Linked DNA regions of Homo sapiens: region 1 is linked to region 2. Evidence: promoter capture Hi-C in 16 types of primary human blood cells and fetal thymus (Javierre and others, 2016). All regions are on one chromosome and are shown on one strand. The core of a region is centred on a gene start or on the middle of the fragment in contact, and the rest is flanking DNA. Distances in the headings are between cores, read along the strand shown.

Evidence for each region. The method cuts DNA at HindIII sites, captures the fragments that hold promoters and counts their contacts. A CHiCAGO score of 5 or more calls a contact.
Region 1: a contact is called between a fragment that was not itself captured here and the fragment with the promoter of CDH23 in region 2, in 1 of 17 cell types (neutrophils). The highest score is 7.6, in neutrophils.

Annotation. Positions count from the first base shown.
Region 1 is chr10:71,907,819-71,912,775 of GRCh38, forward strand. No RefSeq gene overlaps it. Among named protein-coding and RNA genes, the nearest start is that of LINC03139, 32 kb to the left of the region's middle. RefSeq lists an enhancer at 1,745-1,974. The HindIII fragment of the contact is 9,081 bases long and covers 1-4,957 here.
Region 2 is chr10:71,393,704-71,399,377 of GRCh38, forward strand. CDH23 (cadherin related 23) reads left to right here and starts at 3,217. Exons shown (of 70, transcript NM_022124.6): 1 at 3,217-3,615. RefSeq lists a silencer at 2,736-2,825 and an enhancer at 3,509-4,020. The HindIII fragment of the contact is 8,970 bases long and covers 1,898-5,674 here.

The sequences.
Region 1 (4,957 bases), core at 1,444-3,943, 510 kb after region 2:
AGGGACTATCAATAAGGGCCCTGAGACCTAGCAAAGTCACCCCTACAACACACAGGCTTGGCAGATGGTTTCAGTCTAATCCAGACCAGAGAGACATAACAACCAAATGTAGCCAGGAAATTTGATTGGATCCTGGATCAGGAAATAAAAAAGACAATTTAAGGGAAAAGTTGAAGAAATGTGAATGTCCTGTAGACTGCATGTTTGCTGATCTTTTTGAATGAATGTTATTCTCGGGTGTCATGATGATTCTGTGATTCCGTAGGAGGATATCTTTGTTCTTAGGAGACGTACACCTTCGTGTTTATGGGTGAAGGGCCAAGAGATTGGCAAGTTACTTTCAAATTAGAAAATAGACAGAGGCTGGGCATAGTGGCTCACACCTGTAATCCCAGCACTTTGGGAGGCCGAGGCAGGCGGATCACCTGAGGTCGGGAGTTTGAGACCAGCCTGACCAACATGGAGAAACCCCGTCTCTACTAAAAATATAAAAATTAGCTGGGCATGGTGGTGCATGCCTGTAATCCCAGCTGCTCGGGAGGCTGAGGCAGGAGAATCGCCTGAACCCAGAAGGCGGAGGTTGCAGTGAGCAAAGATCATGCCATTGCACTCCAGCCTGGGCAACAAGAGGGAAACTCCATCTCAAAAAACAAAAACAAAAGAAAAAGAAAATAGAGACACAGAGACAGAGATTAAAAGGATGGGGACGGGAGGGAGAAAACATGCTAAAATGTGAAGAATTGGTGAAATCTGGGTTGGGGGCACACAGGTATTCATTGAAGAAGAACAGGTGTGCACAAAGGGCTGCAAGCCTCCAGATTAAAAAAAGAAGCTATTCTTGAGACCCGTGGCTCACGCCTGTAATCCCAACACTTTGGGAGGCCAATGCAGGCAGATCATGAGGTCAGGATTTCAAGACCAGCCTGGCCAACATGGTGAAACCCTGTCTCTACTAAAAAATACAAAAATAAGCTGGGCATGGTGGTGGGTGCCTGTAATCCCAGCAACTCAAGAGCCTGAGGCAGGAGAATCACTTGAACCTGGGAGGCAGAGGTTGCAGTAAGCCGAGATTGCACCACTGCACCAGCCTGGGCAACAAGAGCAAAACTCTGTCAAAAAAAAAAAAAAAAGAAAGAAAAGAGAAAGAAAAGACAGAAAGGAAGAAAGGAAGAAAGAAGAAAGACAGACAGAAAGAAAGACAGAGAAAAATTACTGGGGAGCCAGGAAGGCCTCATGGAGGAGGTACTATCTAGGATGAGCCTGAAGTTTGGGTATGTTCATGGCAGAGACAAAGGTGTTCCCAGTACAGGAAACAACACGTGCAAAGGTGTGAGGGTTAGATGTGACTTAGATATGATTAGCCGATGGGTTCCTCCTGCTTCCTGTACGAACAAAACCAATTCATTGAGACCATGGTACTGCAGTAGAGAAAGAAGGTAGCTACGTGGAAGACGGAGTTATTACTAAAATCAGTGTCCCCAAAGGCTCAGAGGTTAGAGTTTTTCAAGGACAGTTTGGTGGGCAGGGGGCTGGGGGAGAAGGAATATTGATTGGTTGGGGTGAAATCACAGGGGTGTGGAAAATTGTCCTCGTGCTCCAAGTCCTCTGGGTGGGGGCCACAGGACCAGTTGAGTCACGAGTCGGTGGTCCAGGTGGGGTCAGTTGATCATCAGAAATGCAAAAGTCTGAAAAGACATCTCAAAAGGCCGATCTTCGGTTCTACAAGAGTGTTGTTATTTATAGGAGTAACTGAGGAAGTCACACATCTGTGACATCCGGAACAATACTGATAATAATTTACTGCGCCTTCATCTTATCAGAGTTCAGGCCCTTCTCATAACCCTATCTTTGTGGACTTTTATTAGCTTTACAAAGGTGGTTTAGTTTTGGGAAGGGCTATTACCATGCTTGCCTTAAGCTAAAAACTAAATTCCTCCCAAAGTCAGCTTGGCCTATGCCCAGGAATGACCAAGGACAGCTTGGAGGTTAGAGGGAAGATGGAGTCCACTCTGTCAGAGTTCTCTCACTGTCATAATTTTGCAAAGGTGGTTTCACTAACACAATGTGGCAGGTGTTATGGGTTGGGCCACTCATCACATATTCAAGTTGGATCAGGTAGGATCTTAGACAACTACAAACTCACCTTTTCTCAAGCCCTTGCAGCTAGCAGTGGCCATGTGACACAATTTTGACCAAGAAAGCTACTGGGGAATCCCAGGAAAGTCTTTGCTTTCCTGATACGGCTGCAAACTTGTCTTCTGTCTCCTTCCTCCTGGAACTCAGACCTAATTGACGTGGGGCTGGCCATGCAGGAGACAGAAATATGTAAAACACAATACTCACCAACAGTAGAATACACATTCTTCTAGAATACCCAAGGAATGCTGGTCAAGATAAACCATATGGACCAGGCATGGCAGCTCATATCTGTAATCTCAGCACTTTGGGAGGACAAGGTGGGCAGATTGCTTGAACCCAGGCATTCAAGACCAGCCTGGGTAATATGGCAAAACCCCATCTCTTCAGAAAATATAAAAAATTAACTGGAAGTAGTGGAGCACACTTGTAGTCCCAGCCACTCAGGAGGCTAAGGTAGGAGAATCGCTTGAACCTGGGAGGTCAAGGCTGGGGGACAGCCTGGGGGACAGAGTGAGACCCTGTCTCAAAAAAAAAAAAAAAAAAAAAGACAAACTGTATGTTGGACCATAAAATGAGTCTCAATAAACTTAACAGGATTGAAACAATACAGAGTATGTTCTTTGATCCAATGGAATTTAAAAAATTCTTTTAGAAATCAATAGCAATATGATATCCAGAAACACCCTCAAAGGAAGCAAGACTTCTAAATACATATTCTCTGGGCCACGGAAAAAGTCACAAGGGAAATTAGAAAATATTTATAAGTGAAAGATAACAAAAGCACAAAATATTAATTTCTTTTAGTAGATTTTTATTTATTTATTTATTTATTTTGAGGCAGAATCTCACTCTGTTGCCCAGGCTGGAGAGCAGTGGTGTGATCTTGGCTCTCTGCAACCTCTGCCTCCCAGGTTCAAACGATTCTCCTGCCTCAGCCTCCCAAGTAGCTGGGATTACAGGTGCCCATCACCACGCTCAGCTAATTTTTTCATATTTTCAGTAGAGACAGGGTTTCGCCATTTTGGTCAGGCCAGTCTTGAGCTCCTGACCTCAGGTGATCCGCCCGCCTGGGCCTCCCAAAGTGCTAGGATTACAGGCATGAGCCACCGTGCCCGGCCTCTTTTAGTAGATTTTTAAAATTTTCTTAGAGACAGGGTCGTGTTCTGTCACACAGGCTGGAGTGCAGTGGTGCAATCATAGCTCGCTGCAGCCTCAACCTCCTGGGCTCAAGTGATCCTCCTGCCTGGGCTTCCCAAAGTGCTGGTGAAGGGTTGACAAGCATTGCATGCTGGGTTCTAGACAGAAATACAGTTACAATTAAGCATTAATCAGGCTACACTTTCGCCCACTTCCTTGTTTCTAGAAGTCAGCATGAGATCCTGACCGATTGCATCCCCATTGTTCCCATAGACAGGGTCTCTGACATAAGAATCATAAGGCTTTTCTTGAAGGATCACTTCAGATGTTTTTCAGACGCCAAATTCCAGCAGCCAGTTTGGACACTCCCACAGAGGAATGGGATCAGCATGGGAATACAGCTGCTTCCTCTCCCAGTCCCATGACTTCACCCTGCACTTTTCCACCAATCAGTGATCTCCACACTTCAGCCCACTCCAAAACCCTTAGGAACCCTAGCCCCAGGCTCCTCAGGGAGATGGATTTGAGGTTCTCTCCCATTTCTTTGTTTGGTGACCCTACGATTAAACCTCTTTCTCTTCTGCAGCCTGGGGTCTTGTATTGACATGCTGTGTGCTTTGGGCAATGAACTTCTCACAGTTATACTGAGGTCACAGGCATGAGCCACTGTGCCCAGCCCTCTTTCAATAGTTTTTTTTTTTTTTTTTTTTTTTGGAGGCGGAGTCTCGCTCTGTTGCCCAGGCTGGAGTGCAGGGGTGCAATCTCGGCTCACTGCAACCTCTGCCTCCTGGGTTCAAGCGATTCTCCTGCCTCAGCCTTCAGAGTAGCTGGGATTACAGGCACGCACCACCACGCCTGGCTAATTTTTGTATTTTCAGTAGAGACAGGGTTTCACCATGTTGGCCAGACTGATCTCGAACTCCTGACCTTAGGTGATCTGCTTGCCTTGGCCTCCCAAAGTGCTGGGATTACAGGTGTGAACCACTGTGCCCAGCCCAGTAGATTTTTTTTTTTTTTTTTTTTTTTTGAGACGGAGTCTCGCTCTGTCGCCCAGGCTGGAGTGCAGTGGTGGGATCTCGGCTCACTGCAAGCTCCGCCTCCCGGGTTCACGCCATTCTCCTGCCTCAGCCTCCCAAGTAGCTGGGACTACAGGCGCCCGCCACTACGCCCAGCTAATTTTTTGTATTTTTAGTAGAGACGGGGTTTCACCGTTTTAGCCGGGATGGTCTCGATCTCCTGACCTCGTGATCGGCCCGCCTCGGCCTCCCAAAGTGCTGGGATTACAGGCGTGAGCCACCGCGCCCGGCCTAGATTTTTTTATTTCAGAATTGTATCTGGCTATTCCAGGATTTCCATGGGCTTCTTAATTCCCCTGGTCTCCTGAGAGTCTCGCCCAGCACACGTGCAGGTCAGGAGTTGGCAAAGAATCTTAGGGTGTTCTTAGGCAGATGTTGCTCTCCCCCTCCCCAACCCCAATCATGGCTCCTACTCTGCTGGGATTTCCTCCCTCCATCCCTAGCTGCTGGACCTGCCCTTAACTCCTGTTACCACTAGGGATGTCTCTGAGTCACATGGCACCAGAGTAGTTTAGAGGCAGTGAATCTGTATGGTCATCTGCACAGGTCTGCAGCAACCTCAATCCTTGCCTCCTCAGAAGACAGAATTCAACCAAAGGGCATAA
Region 2 (5,674 bases), core at 1,967-4,466:
TCGAGCCCACACCACACAGGCCCACTGTGGTCTCACCTTCCACCGTGTGCCCTGATCCTGGTCACTCTGCTTCCTCCCTTATCCCTCCAGTCTAGGGGTGGCACACTTTCTGCTGTTGCTGCACTCTGGGTCGCCTCGCCATCCAGTTAGAATTCTCAGCCCTTCCATTCCCTGTCTGTTACACACTCACGGTGGTTCTGTGGGCTGGCTGCATCCCAACTGACACCCCAGTTCCCAGCACGGTGCTTGGCACAGTGTGTAACAGAAGGTTTGAGGGGTGGAGAACCTTGAAGAACACCTCTTCTCATGCTTTCATTTTACGAATGGGGAACACAAGGCCAAGAGAGGTCCAGTGTCCAGCCCGCTACCATCCAGCTAGAGGGTGACCTAGAACTCAGATCCCGCTCTCCGGACTCCTGGCTCCATCACACTGTGTAAAAGCATGACCACCTAAGACATGTAGGACCACGACTCCAGTTCATTTGTCCAAGAGCCTACTTGGCATCTCTGTTCTGTGACTGCACAGGCCTCTCACACAACATGTCCCAAGGGAGCTCTTGCTCAGGTCTCCATAGTGGCCTCCTCAGAGGGCCCCATCACAGGAAACAGCACACTGTCCATCTACCACCACAAGCCAGAAACCCAGAAGTCTCCTTGACCCTTTGCTCTATCTCACGTATAACCACTCCCTGTCCTCCTGGCCCTGTAGATTTTTACCTCCTGAAAGTCACTTCTCTCCACTTCTACCCACCCCCTCATTCCAGGCCTCTGTCACCAATCACCTAGACACTGCAGCAGCCTGAGGACATGTAAGCTTCACCAGGGCAAGGATTTGTTTGGCGCAAGCATGCGTGTCTGTGTGCATGTGTGTGTGCCTGTGTGTGTGTGCTTGTGTGTGTTGTTCATTGACATATCCAAAGTGTCTAAATTCACAGGGGTTAACTAACGTTTTCTGTAAAGGGCCAGGCTGTAAATATTTCTTGTTTTTGCAGGCCATGCGGTCCCTCTTGAAATTCCTTATGTCTGTAGTTGTAGTGTGAAAGGAGACACAACCAAACAGGCCATGTCTGTGTGCCACTAAAACTTTCTTTACAAAAACATGTGATGAGGCAGATTTGACCTCTGGGTAGCGGTGTGCTCACCCCTGGTCTAGAAAATTTCTTGGCACATAGTATTTGACAAATAAATACTTTTAATTGAAGCAGTCTCTTCTCATCAACTGTTGCCTCCCAATCAATTCTCTCTCTCTCTTATTTTTTTTTAGATAGAGTCTTAGTGATCCTACTGCCTCAGCCTCCCAAAATGCTGCCATTATAGGTGTCAGCCACCAAGCCCGGCCTCTGAAGCTTTCAGTCTTAGGATAAAGATCAACTCCTGATTAAGGCCAACACACCTGCACAGTCTGGCCCCCACTCCATTGTGGCTTTACAGTCACTGCCAAGGACTAGAGGGACCACTCAGTGACTCGGATCAGAGAGGGGGTGCTTAAAGCCAACAGATGGTGCAGGCTCACTCACCCTCCCAAGCTTCCCAGGAGCGTTTCCTCGTACGCTGGAGGCACGGAGCTCTCCCCACCCTTTCTGGACTTCCTGACATATGCCAGCTCCTTCCCACCTTTGCACAAGTTGATTGCGACTGCGGTCACCAAACCATTGTTCCTGGCCCAGCCGTTGCCTGCAGTGGGCACCTGGGGCCTTTGCACATGCTGTTTCTCCTGCCTAAAACTCCACTCTCTCTCCCTTGCTCATCCTTCAGCTCAGTCACCTCCTCTAGGAGGTCTTCCCTGATCCCCTCGGCCAGGCGCCATTAAAGCACTCTTCTTCCTAGCACTGATTCTGGCTGTAATTTTACCTGCTTATGTGTTTCATTGATGAATGTCTGGTTCCCCTACTAGAGAAGCTTCATGGGGCACAAAGACCAAGCCTGTTTTGTTCTCCATCCTATTCCTAGAAACTATTTCAGTTAGCTAGCACATAGCAGTGACTGTGAATGAATGAATGAATAATGAATGAGCGAATGGTAAGGAACTGGAGCTTTGGAACCAGATAGATTCTGGGTTCAATACCCGACTCCACCACAGGGGCAAGTCCCCAACCTCCTAAAGCCTGTTTCTCACTGTAAAACTGGGATAATGGCAGGGCCCACCAGAAAGACTTTATTGAAGATAGAATGAGTTGAGGCCCAGAAAGTCTCAGCCCAGAGCCTGGCTCCAGGCAGGTACTGTCAATGTACTGACTGGAACAGTGACAGCTCGGAAATCCTGTCATGTGAGAAATAGTTTTAAAAAATCAGAATGCTTAGCCCCGGGGAAGTAAAGATCAAAGGTAGGGGATAAACCTCTTCCATTACCTGCATATGGACCCTTTCTTGATCCAGCTGTCTCAGAAAGCCATAAAGTCTCTGTCCCTATAGGTGTGCAAAAAGGAGCCGGGAGACCATGACTCGGGCACTGCAGACGGAGCTCCCGCAGGGGTGAGGGCGCCTAAGTGACCTCACGGGTCTCCTCCAACCCGGGGTCCTCCATTTCTAAGCACTTGGAGGCCTCTTGAGCTCTAGTGAGGGAGGAGGCGCAGATGGGAGCGCACGAGTCGGGTGGGCAAAGGCAGCTGGTTGGAGAGAAGCGTAGGCCAAGAGGCCCCAAGGACTAGAGGGACTGCTCAGCGACTCTGGGAGCAGAGAGGGGGCGCTTAAAGCCAACAGATGGCGCGGGCTCACCTAGGCCGAGCGCCCGCTCGCCCGCCCGGGCTTCCCGGGAGCGTTACCTCGCTCTGCCTGAGGCGCGGGGCGGACGAGACGCTGGGGGCCCCATCCCCCTGCGCGCCCCTCTGCGGGACGGCTGGCGGCCTGGCGGGGCACTGCTCTGTCTCGCACCTGGGGCCTCTTCCGCGGGCTTCCTCCCTGCCCCTTTGGGGGATTCGTAGAGTTGCCACAGCAGCCGGTGCCATGACATCGGCAGAGGGCAGCTTCGCCAGCACTGAAATATTCATGCCCTGAGCGCCCGGCGGGGCTCGGCGCCGCTCCCGGGGGTCCGGGCGGGGCCGGGCGGGAGCTCGGGGGTCCTGGCGGCCTGAGGGGTGGGGGAGCGCCGAGCGCGGGCGGGCGGGCGGGGGCCGGGCGAGGCGGGAGGTGAGGGAGGGAGCTGCGGGAGGCGGGGTCTGGACGGCGGGGGCCGAGCGGGGCGGGGGCCGAGCGGGGCGGGGGAAGCAAGGGAAAGTTGATCGCGGACTTGAGCGGCGGCGGCGGCTCGGGAGAGAGGGACGCGGGCTGCAGGCGCGATGCTTGGCTAGAGGACGCGTCCGACGGCGGCCGGACGCTGAGGTGGTCGGGGCTAGTCAGCCCGGCCTGGGCATGGAGCGCGGGGTGGCAGAGCCTCTGGACGTTTGGGGCGCGCCCAGTCCGAGCCCCCGGCGCGCCTGAAGTTGCGAGCGGCGAGCGGCGAGCGGCGAGCGGCCCGCGGAGACCCAGGAGCTGCCGGCACGCCGCGGATGAGCCTTCGCGCCGGCGGGAAGACGCGGCGGTGGCCAGGGCCAGAGCAGGCGGCCCGCGGGGGCCGATCCGGCGGAGAGCAGAGCCCGAGGCGAGGCGAGGCGCGGCGCCGCTGCACACACGCACACGGTACCCGGAGCCACGCACCGCCTCTTCCCTCCTCGCTTCCCTCTCCTTCCCCTCGCCGTTCGCCCGCCGCGCGGCGGGGAAGTTGGTGGTGACCGCGGCTGCCGAACCACTTGTTCCCAGCGCGGCCATCGCCCGTGGCGGGCGCTCGCGGCATCCTTCGGTCCCAGGCCCCTGGCCCTAGCCTCGCGCCCCGCTCCGAGCTCCCCGACGCGCGGCAACTTTGATTCCTGGGAACTCGAATTCCATTCGCGTTGGCCTTGGGAGGACAGGCATCCCATCCCCCATCCCCGGTCCTGGGACCGCGAACATTTGGGGGCTTTGCTCTCGGCGCTACGGAGAGGGTCCAGGTCTGGGGTGGAGAGATTTTCGAGAGTGGAGCGCGTTGGGATCCAATCCCCTCCCCTTCTGAGCCCTGGGTCCCCATTTGGACAGTGGGGATGGGGTGGGGCGCACCCCTACTGCGGGCTGGGCAGAGGCGCTGAGGGGAACTAAAGGCACGTAGTTCTCCCCTCCCCTCATCAAGTCCCTGTGCCCGCGGGAGACCCCAGGGGACTTACACATCCTCCCAAATTCGGTCCAGCTATGGGAAGACGCGCCCCTCGAGGAGCCGGGAGCCTTTTGCGGCTCTCGCTTCGCCTTCCTGGCCCTGGAACTGGTCCGCTACGAGCGGTGCTGGCTGCCCCCAGGAGCTGGCACCCGGGAGCACTGCCCCTCATCTCCACCGTAGGTCAGCCCAGGACTCGAGCAGAGCCCGCGTGTTCCAAGGCAGTGACGGCGCCAGCCGGCGGGGACTCTGCCTGGCTTTCTCGGAGCGGGCACCTAGAGAGGCTGCCTCCGTGCTGTGAGCGGAGATCCGATGCCAGCCGCCGCCCCACTGCGACCCCAGCCCCAGCCCTAGTGCTGTCAGCGGTCCACTGGGAGGAAATTAGCCTTTCCTCGGTAGTAATACTCCCCCATCCTCCCTAGTAATTCAGAAAGCAGAGCCTTCTTTTTCTACGTCCTTTGCCCTCTCAGACCAGAGCTGGCATTGACATTGACCTCGCCTTCCAGCCCCTTGGGAAGTGCCCCAACCCTAATTTGGATTTTGAAATAAGCTAGAGAGACACAGGAGTGTGTGTGTGTGTGTGTGTGTGTGTGTGTGTGTGTGTGTGTGTGTGTTGGGTGGAGTCAGACCCTCACACAGGGAAGAATTAGGTTGTGGGGTGTGGGGTGGGGCGGGCTTTAAGAACCTAGTTGGGGCCAGTTGCATGGTGATGATGAGTCAGCCCACGATGGGGAGAGCTGGCTTGGAGTTAGTGCTTGGTTCGTGGTGCAGGGGTAGGCGCACTGCGGTCAGCACCTACAGGGGTGGGGGCACTAGATGTTACTCTGCCAAGGAGGAGCTGGGAAGGGGCCCCTTGCCTGGGGGAATAGCAAGGCTTGGTTCTGGCTGCCAGGGCTGGGGAGGGCAGGAAGGCAGAGTGTCTCGTGGTAGAGGGTGGGTGTCCCCCGTGAGTTGGGAAGGTGGCACACAGAAGCCACTGGTGTGAACCAGGAAGCTCTGCCTCGAGTGCTGGAGGACAGCAGTGAGGGGTGGGAGGCCCAGAGCTAGCATCCTGGCCCCGTCTGTGCTGGGTCCGCATATACTTCTCAGACTTGGCCTTCCTCACCTCTAAACAGCTGGGCTCCTCACGTCTGCTTACCAAAGGGCTTGATTTGAGGGTTGTGATAGCAGATGGTCCTGGTTGCCTCTGGAATAGCTCCCCCACTCAACAAGCTACCTTACCTGCAGTTTCACCATTTGAGGTTCATTTATTTGAGCCAAGTATTTTAAAGGGCACCTTCCTGAAGTGCTCATTTAAAATGCACATTCTTCTGGGAGGTGAAGGTGTAGCGGAACCTTGCTCCTCAGAGTGTGGCCTGTGGACATGCAGCGTCGGCATCACCTGGGGACTTGTTAGAAATGCAGACTCTTGGGCCCCACCCCAGACCTTCTGAATCAGAATCTGCATTTGGTAAGATCCTTGGGTGACTCATGTGCTCAGTAAAGTTTGAGCTGTGGTCCACAGTGCCTTCTCTA